Linked DNA regions of Homo sapiens: region 1 is linked to region 2. The links are contacts of gene promoters, found by promoter capture Hi-C in blood cells and fetal thymus (Javierre and others, 2016). All regions are on one chromosome and are shown on one strand. Each heading gives the region's core, a stretch centred on a gene start or on the middle of the fragment in contact. The rest is flanking DNA. Distances are from core to core; before and after follow the strand shown. Region 1 overlaps INSIG1 (insulin induced gene 1). Region 2 holds the start of HTR5A (5-hydroxytryptamine receptor 5A).

The links. The method cuts DNA at HindIII sites, captures the fragments that hold promoters and counts their contacts. A CHiCAGO score of 5 or more calls a contact.
Region 1: a fragment that was not itself captured here is called in contact with the fragment with the promoter of HTR5A in region 2 in 1 of 17 cell types (fetal thymus); the score reaches 7.6 in fetal thymus.

What each region holds. Positions count from the first base shown.
Region 1 is chr7:155,301,092-155,305,646 of GRCh38, forward strand. INSIG1 (insulin induced gene 1) reads left to right here. Exons shown (of 6, transcript NM_005542.6): 3 at 475-599; 4 at 1,160-1,326; 5 at 1,656-1,755. Among named protein-coding and RNA genes, the nearest start is that of INSIG1-DT, 4.4 kb to the left of the region's middle. The HindIII fragment of the contact is 492 bases long and covers 1,392-1,883 here.
Region 2 is chr7:155,068,166-155,073,036 of GRCh38, forward strand. It overlaps HTR5A (5-hydroxytryptamine receptor 5A), which reads left to right and starts at 2,159. Exons shown (of 2, transcript NM_024012.4): 1 at 2,159-3,475. The coding sequence starts at 2,735. It overlaps HTR5A-AS1 (HTR5A antisense RNA 1), which reads right to left and starts at 3,392. Exons shown (of 2, transcript NR_038945.1): 1 at 2,869-3,392; 2 at 1-1,080. RefSeq lists enhancers at 1,851-1,920, 2,708-3,534 and a silencer at 2,031-2,120. The HindIII fragment of the contact is 4,035 bases long and covers 1,330-4,871 here.

The DNA of each region.
Region 1 (4,555 bases), core at 388-2,887, 230 kb after region 2:
TGCCCAGCCCCAGTACTGGGTGGTGGCAGGAGTGTCAGAGCTGTGATGTGACAGGGTGTGGACAGATGCTAACCTTTTTATTGTAAGATAGAAATCACACCGGATGAAAAGACAAGGTGAACTACATAGTCATTTAAGTTCTGTGTGCTTTAGGCAAATGTGGATATTAAATATAAGGTTACATATTGCTCATATTAATATGAATAATCCCTGCTTGATTCCTTCCTGTGTTTACTGAGACATGTTCAACTACACTAAATAATAGTGATTTTTAAAAAACTTTTCCAAACAGTACAATTTTGTGGGAGTGGTACTCAAAGAGAACAAGAATATAAAATCACTCTGAAGTTATAGCTGATAATTTTTTCTAGGAAAAGGACTGGTTTGAGTAATGTACTGTGTTACTAATGACCACGTTGAAATTCTGGAACTTGAATCTGCTGTATTCTAACATTGTCAACTTTTTTAAAACAGCTGTTGTTGGCCTACTGTACCCCTGTATCGACAGTCACCTCGGAGAACCCCACAAATTTAAGAGAGAATGGGCCAGTGTCATGCGCTGCATAGCAGTTTTTGTTGGCATTAACCACGCCAGTGCTGTATCCTTAATTTTCTGTGCTACGTCCAGAGTATCTTCTTAGGTTATATATTGAAGCGTTTTGTTTTGTTATATACTCAAATGACTCCATGTCATAATACAGACATGATGGTGGTACCTACCCATTTCAGATTACTAAAAAGAGAAAGAAGAATGGGGCTATCGATGACTTCATAGTAAAATATATTGTTTTATGGTCAAAATAAATATATATTTATTTATATTTTTATATATATTATATATATTTTTAAATATATATAATATATATAATAAATATATATTTATATAAATATATATAAGCACTTTATATATAGCTTTCAGCAAGTTTATTCTTATGGTTAAGTTTTTGACTCAGTGATGGCAGGGAGATTTCAGGTGATCTTAATGATTACTGTAACCTGTATCCAACAAATCCTTTCTTTAGCTTATTACACAGTTTTTATGGACAGTGAATTATCTGTGGTACAATAATAAAATACCCATGTTTTTAACCCTTGTGGTTTTACGTTTTTTTATCTTAATAAGAGTCAGCAAACTTTTCCTTAACTTTTATATCACCAGAAATTGGATTTTGCCAATAATGTCCAGCTGTCCTTGACTTTAGCAGCCCTATCTTTGGGCCTTTGGTGGACATTTGATCGTTCCAGAAGTGGCCTTGGGCTGGGGATCACCATAGCTTTTCTAGCTACGCTGATCACGCAGTTTCTCGTGTATAATGGTGTCTATCAGTAAGTGTGTGTTTTCAAATATTGGCTTTGGAAAGCTTACTTAACTTTCATTAAAACATCCACTAAGCTTAGATATTTTCATATTTTATTTGTTTTTTATATAGAATGATACAGATTTAGGCATGAAATTCTCAAAAATGCTGCTATCCATAACTTAATGTAACGCAAAGGAAAACCAAGTAGTAGCAGTTACAACCAAACAAATATGAACATTCGTAACATTGGATGGTTGATATGCGTTCTGCATATCCCCACTACAGAGAATCTGTGATGTAGAATTGAGCCAGGTGAAATTGACTGCTAAGGTACAGTTTCTTTTCTCGCTCCAGGTATACATCCCCAGATTTCCTCTATATTCGTTCTTGGCTCCCTTGTATATTTTTCTCAGGAGGCGTCACGGTGGGGAACATAGGACGACAGTTAGCTATGGTAAGTGAAATGATCATATTATCTTCTAAAACTTGCGTCTCTTTACCTTGATAGAATGACTTTACATGATACATTCAAATTTGCGTTCATATATTCTGGTTCAGACTTGAGTGACAACTACTGAGAAAAGCTTATATTTAAAAAAATAGGTAATGATACCCAGGTAATTCTTTGCTAAATTATAAAAATTCATAATATTTGATCTAGAAAAGGAACTAGAGCCCTCGCACTGCCCCTTTGAATTGCAGATGTGGTCAGTGTTCTGAATTCTTGAAATTTCTGTAGTAAGCAGTAGAGAAAGTGACTGGTGTGTGAGTGTCCCCTCCTCCTTCACCATCGGAAGCAGATCTGGATGACCTCATGCAGTGATACTTTGCTCCCTGAGCATCAGTCCACCAGTGTTTCTTTTCACAAAATCAGAGTGGATGCAGATGATGCTGGCCTCTTAGTCCACAGTCAAGCAAATCGAGCCTGAGGCTGCAGAGTCTGTCTCGGGCCAGGGCAGGGACTAATGTGGGTGGGCAAGGGGACAGCCTGGTTCAGGCAGGCAGCACCTTTCTGTGGGGCAGGTGGCCCTGGGCATGGAGAAGTGGTGATGAGAGCACCGCTGCACGTGGCCGGGTCACCATGTAGACGGACTGTCCTGCCTGAACATTGCATCTGTTCTCAGCTGCAGGAGAAAGCAGTGCTACCCCGCAGAGCTTCTCTCACAGCCCCCCTGAGGGAGACGGAAAGGTAGTGAACTCCAGGATGGCTTTAGCAGTTCTCATTAGTTAAAAATTGACATCTTAGCACTTCAATTTAAAAACATAGAGGTGGACTTTTAAATGTTATTTTGAGTTGACTTTGGCAGGCTGAAAGAAAGTAAATTAAAAAAAACAACAAAAACCTAGAGCTGTTGCTCTCGGAGATAAGCTCTGGGAAAACTTATCTTAGTACCTCATGCTATTTTTAAAACAGTACATTTATTTTTGCCAGCTGATACCCTTCTGTGAGGAGTTGAATTTGAAGACCACTTGGCTGTTTCACAAAACCAGAAGTAATTACAGGTAGAATTTGCAGTCTTCCACTGGTTACTGACTCTCTGCTGCCAAATTTCTCATGATGGAGAAGAAAGGACTTTGCTTGCCTTTTTTTTTTTTTTTTTTTTTTGAGACAGAGCTCTGGAGTGCAGTGGTGCCATCATAGCTCACTGTAACCTTGAGCTCCCGGACTCAAGCAATCCTCCCGCTTCAGCGTCCCGAGTAGCTGGGATTACAGGCACATGCCACCATACCCGGCTAACTTTTTTGCTTTTTGTGGAGATGTTATCTCCCTGCCTTGTCCAGGCCGGGCTCGAACTCGTGGGCTCAAGCCATCCTCCCACCTTGGCCTCCCAAAGCACTGGGATTATAGGCGTGAGCCTGGCCTTGCTTTTTTTAATATTAAAAATCTGGTCGGATGGTCCCACATGGAAATAGTATGTTGTTTTCATGCATTCGCCATCATCCCCGTTAATAGTCTTCAAAGGAGAGCTGGCAACTCCATCATTGCTTTCTTGCTTTGAGATTTTTGTTTCGGTACTCTTTGGGAGAGAATTCCTAAGAAGGTTTTTAGAATAAAATTGTCCTCAACCAGATTGACTAATTACACATTATAACTACAACTTGAATAACATTTAAAGAGTTGGTTATTTCTGTTTGATAGGTTGGTGCTGTTATATGTCAAGGCTTTTTAAATCGGTTTTAAGAAATAAGCATTATTTTGGTGGAGGTAGAAATTTCACAACATTCATAAGTTCTAAACATCTAGAAATGGTTGGAGGAAACATTTTCGTTTTGAAGATAGTTTCATTAAGTAATCCCTGCTGTGCTCCTTTGCTTACAGAAAAAAATGTTAAAGATAACTCAAAATAGGATAGTTGGTGTAATTATAATTCTCCTTACTTCAGCTTTCTCTTCATCCTTTTTATTCTTTAAGCTTGGGGGAAAATGTTTGGATGTTCTCGTATCTTAAAACTGGAGGAGAGAGGCTGGGCGCGGTGGCTCACGCCTTTAATCCCAGCACTTTGGGAGGCTGAGGCGGGCGGATCACGAGGTCAGGAGATCGAGACCATCCTGGCTAACACAGTGAAACCCCGTCTGTACTAAAAATACAAAAAAAAAAAAAAAATAGCCAGGCGTGGTGGTGGGCACCTGTAGTCCCAGCTGCTTGGGATGCTGAGGCAGGAGAATGGCGTGAACCCGGGAGGCAGAGCTTGCAATGAGCCGAGATTGTGCCACTGCATTCCAGCCTGGGTGACAGAGCAAGACTCTGTCTCAAAAAAAAAAAAAAAAACTGGAGAAGAGAGATCACCACCTTAATCCCCTTCCCTGCTGGGCTATCACATGAAACTGACCTCTGAGGTTCTAAGCCTAACCCGCCTACCACTGTTTTTATTCATAAATACTTAAATCCTTACCTCTGGATCCCAACTGTTACTCTTTTTTTCACTTCAAAATTTGCAAACTCATTTCTATCCATCAAACCCCGGAAATGGCCCAGGGGCTTCACAGTGCAGTCCCCTCCCTCCTGCTGCATCCGTTCCTCAGGCTGTGCCCCAGGTTGCATTCGTGGTGCGTGTTTTCTCCCAGGGCAGCCTTCCCCACATTCCACTCTTGTCATACTGTTGACTCACAAAATGGAAGTGGCTGAATGTTCCAGGGATAGTGTCTAAGAGCTATTGGTTTAAGGTTGAAACCTACACCAAGTAAGGCTTTGTGAAGGGAGATGACGAGAGTGAAGTTGTTGACAGTCTGAAGGTGAAGAGATTCCGAGGCTC
Region 2 (4,871 bases), core at 909-3,408:
TGTCTCTCTCCTTGGCTTGTAGATGGCCACCTTCTTGCTTTATTCTCACGTGGTCTATCCTATGCACACACACATCCTTGGTGTCTCTTTGCATGTCTAAATTTCCTCTTTTCATAAGGATGTCAGTCAGATTGAATGAGGCCCTATCCTATGGCCTCATTTTAACTTAATCATCCCTTTAAAGATCTTATTTCTAAATATAGTCACACTATGAGGTTCTAGGGGTTAGGACTTCCATATATAAATCTGGCAGGGGGTAAGGGAGGGGGGAAGGAGAGACACAGTTTAACCCATAAGAGGTGACAACCCAGGAAGGTATATTTCCCAATACTGCCATTTCAGAGGTACCATATGGCAGACGGGAGTTTTATACCTTTTCAGATTCTTTTCCTTTTCAGTGTTTTTCAAGATAAAATTGGGGCTATGCTTTAAGATGAAGCTGAAATATTATGATTTTTTATTTGTGTATTTTTAAGAGATAAGCCAGACTTTCTGAACAGGGTTTGTCCCTTCTGGAAATGCTCCATTGGATCTCTCCTTTGTGGGAATATTCTATTCAGTCCCTAAATTTATGACACTCTATTTTTCACAAATTATCCTCAGTCATCCTTGGCTTTGTCCTTATTAACTATTCTGCTGCTCACTTAGCTATCAATACAGACAGCTGTGGCCTGGGGAATCAGTAGGGAATATAATCACAAGCCCATAATGCCTTTCAAGATTCATAGAGATCCATTGAGGCCCGCCTGTGGGCAACACAGTTCATCCATTCCTCCAGATAACAGGCCCTGAGACTAGATGCAGAACTTTTTCCAAAGAAGAGGATTCATAGTTTACATCTCATTCCCATTAGTTCCATGACCTCAAGAAGGTGATTTGCCTTAAAGAAGCACAAGCTTGCTTCCAGATTGGGGCCATGCACAGTTGCTCTGCATGCAGGCAGTCACCATCAGCTGTTTTTAAGTGGTGTTTGAAACAGCCCTGTGAATAATCCGGTATTTAATGATGTTGTCCCGTCCTCTAGGTTCCAGTGGAGGACTTTCTCTTTTCTCAGTGCATTCTCCTGATACTTGTTTTACTCTGCAAGAAACAAAATCTTATATGAAAACATGTTGCTAATCTTTAAATAGTTAAAACTTTCTGACTAAATTTACTTGTAAATGCACAGGATTTCACGACACTCATTTTATATACTTAAAAACAAAGCTTATTAACACCTTACTTTTTTCCTGCCATTTCTGTCCATCATTTTTAAAATTTCAACTTCTTTTATATTGCTATATCATGTGCCTCTTTATGAGGTGCTTTCAATCATAATTTCTGGTTAGAAGCTTCTGATATTTTCTCAGTTTCTGTGGATGTGTTTGTGGTTGTTTTGTGTGCATGTGTGAGGGGAGAGTTAAATTACCTCTTTCTTTTGAGTGAGATGGAGCTCTTATAATAACTTGTATCCCAATTTTTCCTTCTCAGGAAGCAAATTTAGTAGGGACCACTGGAGACTACCCATCTGCCTTATGACTCTGAGGAGATAAAGCATTCTTCAGCCATTCCTGTTGGAGCCAGGTGAAGCATTCTAGCTCCAACACCTCAACCATCTCTAGGAACAGCAGCAACTGCTATCTCGCCTCTCCTCCTTTAAGGAAAACAACCCTTAAGGGAAGCAACTGAGAGCTGGGTAAGAAGAAAGCAATCACGTGCTAAAATCTTCCGGAGAACAAAAGTTAGTGAAACTATCTTAGACCCCTAATTCAGAACTCTTGCAGGAAGAGTAAATACTTATGGAAAGCTGAGAAAGCAGTGTCTAGGGCCTCCAGTCCACCCCTAGAGGGACGTGTGGGGGTGGCTAGGGGAACGTTTTGAGGAAAGTTCATTGGTCAACTTGTTCAACGTGGCAAACTCATTTCAGGCAAGAGAGGCAGCACCGTGGACAGCGCCAACCCTCCTGCTCCCGGGCGGGGCGAGGTGGCAGCACCGCGGACAGCACCACATGTGGTGGCGCACACTGGGAGCCGCCAGGCGCGGGGAGCGCAGCAGCACCGCGGACAGCCCCAAAGCCGCGCGCTCTGAGCCAGGAGGCGGGGAGAGATGGCCTTATCAGCTGATGGCTTACGTAGGGCTAGATCTCCACTTGGATAAGGCAGGTCTCGGTGGGCGCGCCAGCATTCGCTCTCCGGAGCTGCAGCCTCCGAAGGGGTGGCGGGGGCAACAGGGACAGAAGGCAGGTCCCAGAAAGCAGGTTCCCCCAAAACTGGCTTCCCTAGCACGGAGTTAAGGCTGCAGCCGGCTGCCTAGAGAGAAGGGTGGGCAGGGAGACAACGCGGTGAGAGCGACTGCTCTGACGCACCAGCCCCTCTCCTGCACCCACACGCTGCTGGCCGCCCAGCTTCTCCCCGATCTGGGAGATGCTCGGCTCTGGGCGGCCAAACAGCCTTTCCACCAAGGCGAGGAGCCCTGGGCTCCTGACAGCTTAGGCGGGCCCTGGCTGCGACACGCAGCCCCTCGCCTCTGCTTCCTTAGCCTCTGAGGGCTTCAGACCTGCCGCGCTTGCAGCCACACCATCTCCAACGGATGCTCACTAGCAGGAAATTGGGGCCAAATTCACAGGCACTTTCCAGAAACTCCCCCACTGGCCAGAGGTTGCAAACATCCGGATTGGCTCTGGGCACAGTGGCCGCCTTAAGTCCTCCTGAACACCCCTTCTGCAAGTACCCCAGGGCGGTCTCCTGACCCAGAGATGGATTTACCTGTGAACCTAACCTCCTTTTCCCTCTCCACCCCCTCCCCTTTGGAGACCAACCACAGCCTCGGCAAAGACGACCTGCGCCCCAGCTCGCCCCTGCTCTCGGTCTTCGGAGTGCTTATTCTCACCTTGCTGGGCTTTCTGGTGGCGGCGACGTTCGCCTGGAACCTGCTGGTGCTGGCGACCATCCTCCGTGTACGCACCTTCCACCGCGTGCCCCACAACCTGGTGGCATCCATGGCCGTCTCGGATGTCCTGGTGGCCGCGCTGGTCATGCCGCTGAGCCTGGTGCACGAGCTGTCCGGGCGCCGCTGGCAGCTAGGTCGGAGGCTGTGCCAGCTTTGGATCGCGTGCGACGTGCTTTGCTGCACGGCCAGCATCTGGAACGTGACGGCCATAGCCCTGGACCGCTACTGGTCCATCACGCGCCACATGGAATACACGCTCCGCACCCGCAAGTGCGTCTCCAACGTCATGATCGCGCTCACCTGGGCACTCTCCGCTGTCATCTCTCTGGCCCCGCTGCTTTTTGGCTGGGGAGAGACGTACTCTGAGGGCAGCGAGGAGTGCCAGGTAAGCCGCGAGCCTTCCTACGCCGTGTTCTCCACCGTAGGCGCCTTCTACCTGCCGCTCTGTGTGGTGCTCTTCGTGTACTGGAAGATCTACAAGGCTGCCAAGTTCCGCGTGGGCTCCAGGAAGACCAATAGCGTCTCACCCATATCCGAAGCTGTGGAGGTGGGTATCTCAGCAATCCTTAAAAATACTCGACTTGCATCTGTACAGGCTATATCCCCAGGCCACCTGCCCCACCCCCACACTTGTAGAAAATGGAACTTTTTGTGTTTGGGAGTGGGGGGAGTAAACTGGGAGAGTGGAAGAAAGCATCAGAGATGTACTTTGCTCTGACATGTTCCCTCTCACAGGGCTAATCATATCATGTTCCTTCTCTAATGGGTTGTTTGTTAAATATACAGAACACGAGGAGTTCAGACTGCGTCATTCTGCAGGGTCCCCTTTGGCCCCCAAATTCTATGGATCTATAACACCCTTTAGAACATCTGAATAAGCTGGTATCTGGGGTACGCTGATTCAGTACACTGGAAAAAACTAGCAGCTTCCAGCACTTAGAATGGGGGTGTTCCAGGAGGAGGGGAGGCAGGGATGGGAGCATGATTTGATAAGAAGACTGCCATGAGTCAGGTGATGCAGGTTAGCATTTCATCCTAGTCTATTCTTTTTCTTTGCAAATTACAGCAGCCGGTTTATTAAAAATATGGTATCACCTAGGTTACTGTCATTCTGTGGCATCCTCCCGTCCTGACGTAAGACTGAAGATGTTGACTGCACTAGTCCCGGAGCCTGCATTTGTTATCTGCTTCCACTGCCTTAGGGTGTTACTTTATGGGTCTATCCCCCACAGCCCTATTAGGTTGTAGGTGTGACTGAGGACCACTTGTCTGCCTTCCTGAACATGAGTAAAGCTGCGGAAGGAAATTAAAAATCCAGGAAAGAGAATTCCCTAGCTCTCTATGAGAGGTATTTACTGCATGACAACCACTATAGCAACAGCGAGGGAGCTTTTCTCATCTTCTCCCACTCCTGTTTTTTTGTTAACTCTTAATAATCTGACCCTACGACTCATGATTCTGCAGGCTGCTCCCCCTTCATTACCAAGGAAGATTCCTTGAATCTAATTCACACATTTAGGTTAGACCAGAAGTCTACACAGTCCCCATTTTCTGTTGTTGGCTCTGAAACAAGAAAGTAGTTTAAGGAAGCATATGGAGTGCATACTATGGGTTTGGTGCAAGAGGTAAGCGAATGATAGAGATGTTGTCTTTGCCCATGAAGAGTGTGGTCTAGGGAGGGAAATAGACATCCACCCTGAGCTCTGTATATGCTTTCTAGAGTCAGTAGCTAACTCTAACCATCCCCAGTCAGTCAAACTTAGAGGGACCAGAGGTGTAGCTAGGGAAAAAGGGGAGAGGGCATCATCCTAGAGGAAAGAAGAAAACGAGGGGTCAGAGGCTACCTGTTCTTTTACCTATATCAGCATTTCTCAGCGAAGGGTAATACTGCCCTCCAGGAAACATTTGGGCTGTCTGGAGACATTTTGGATGATTAAGAATTG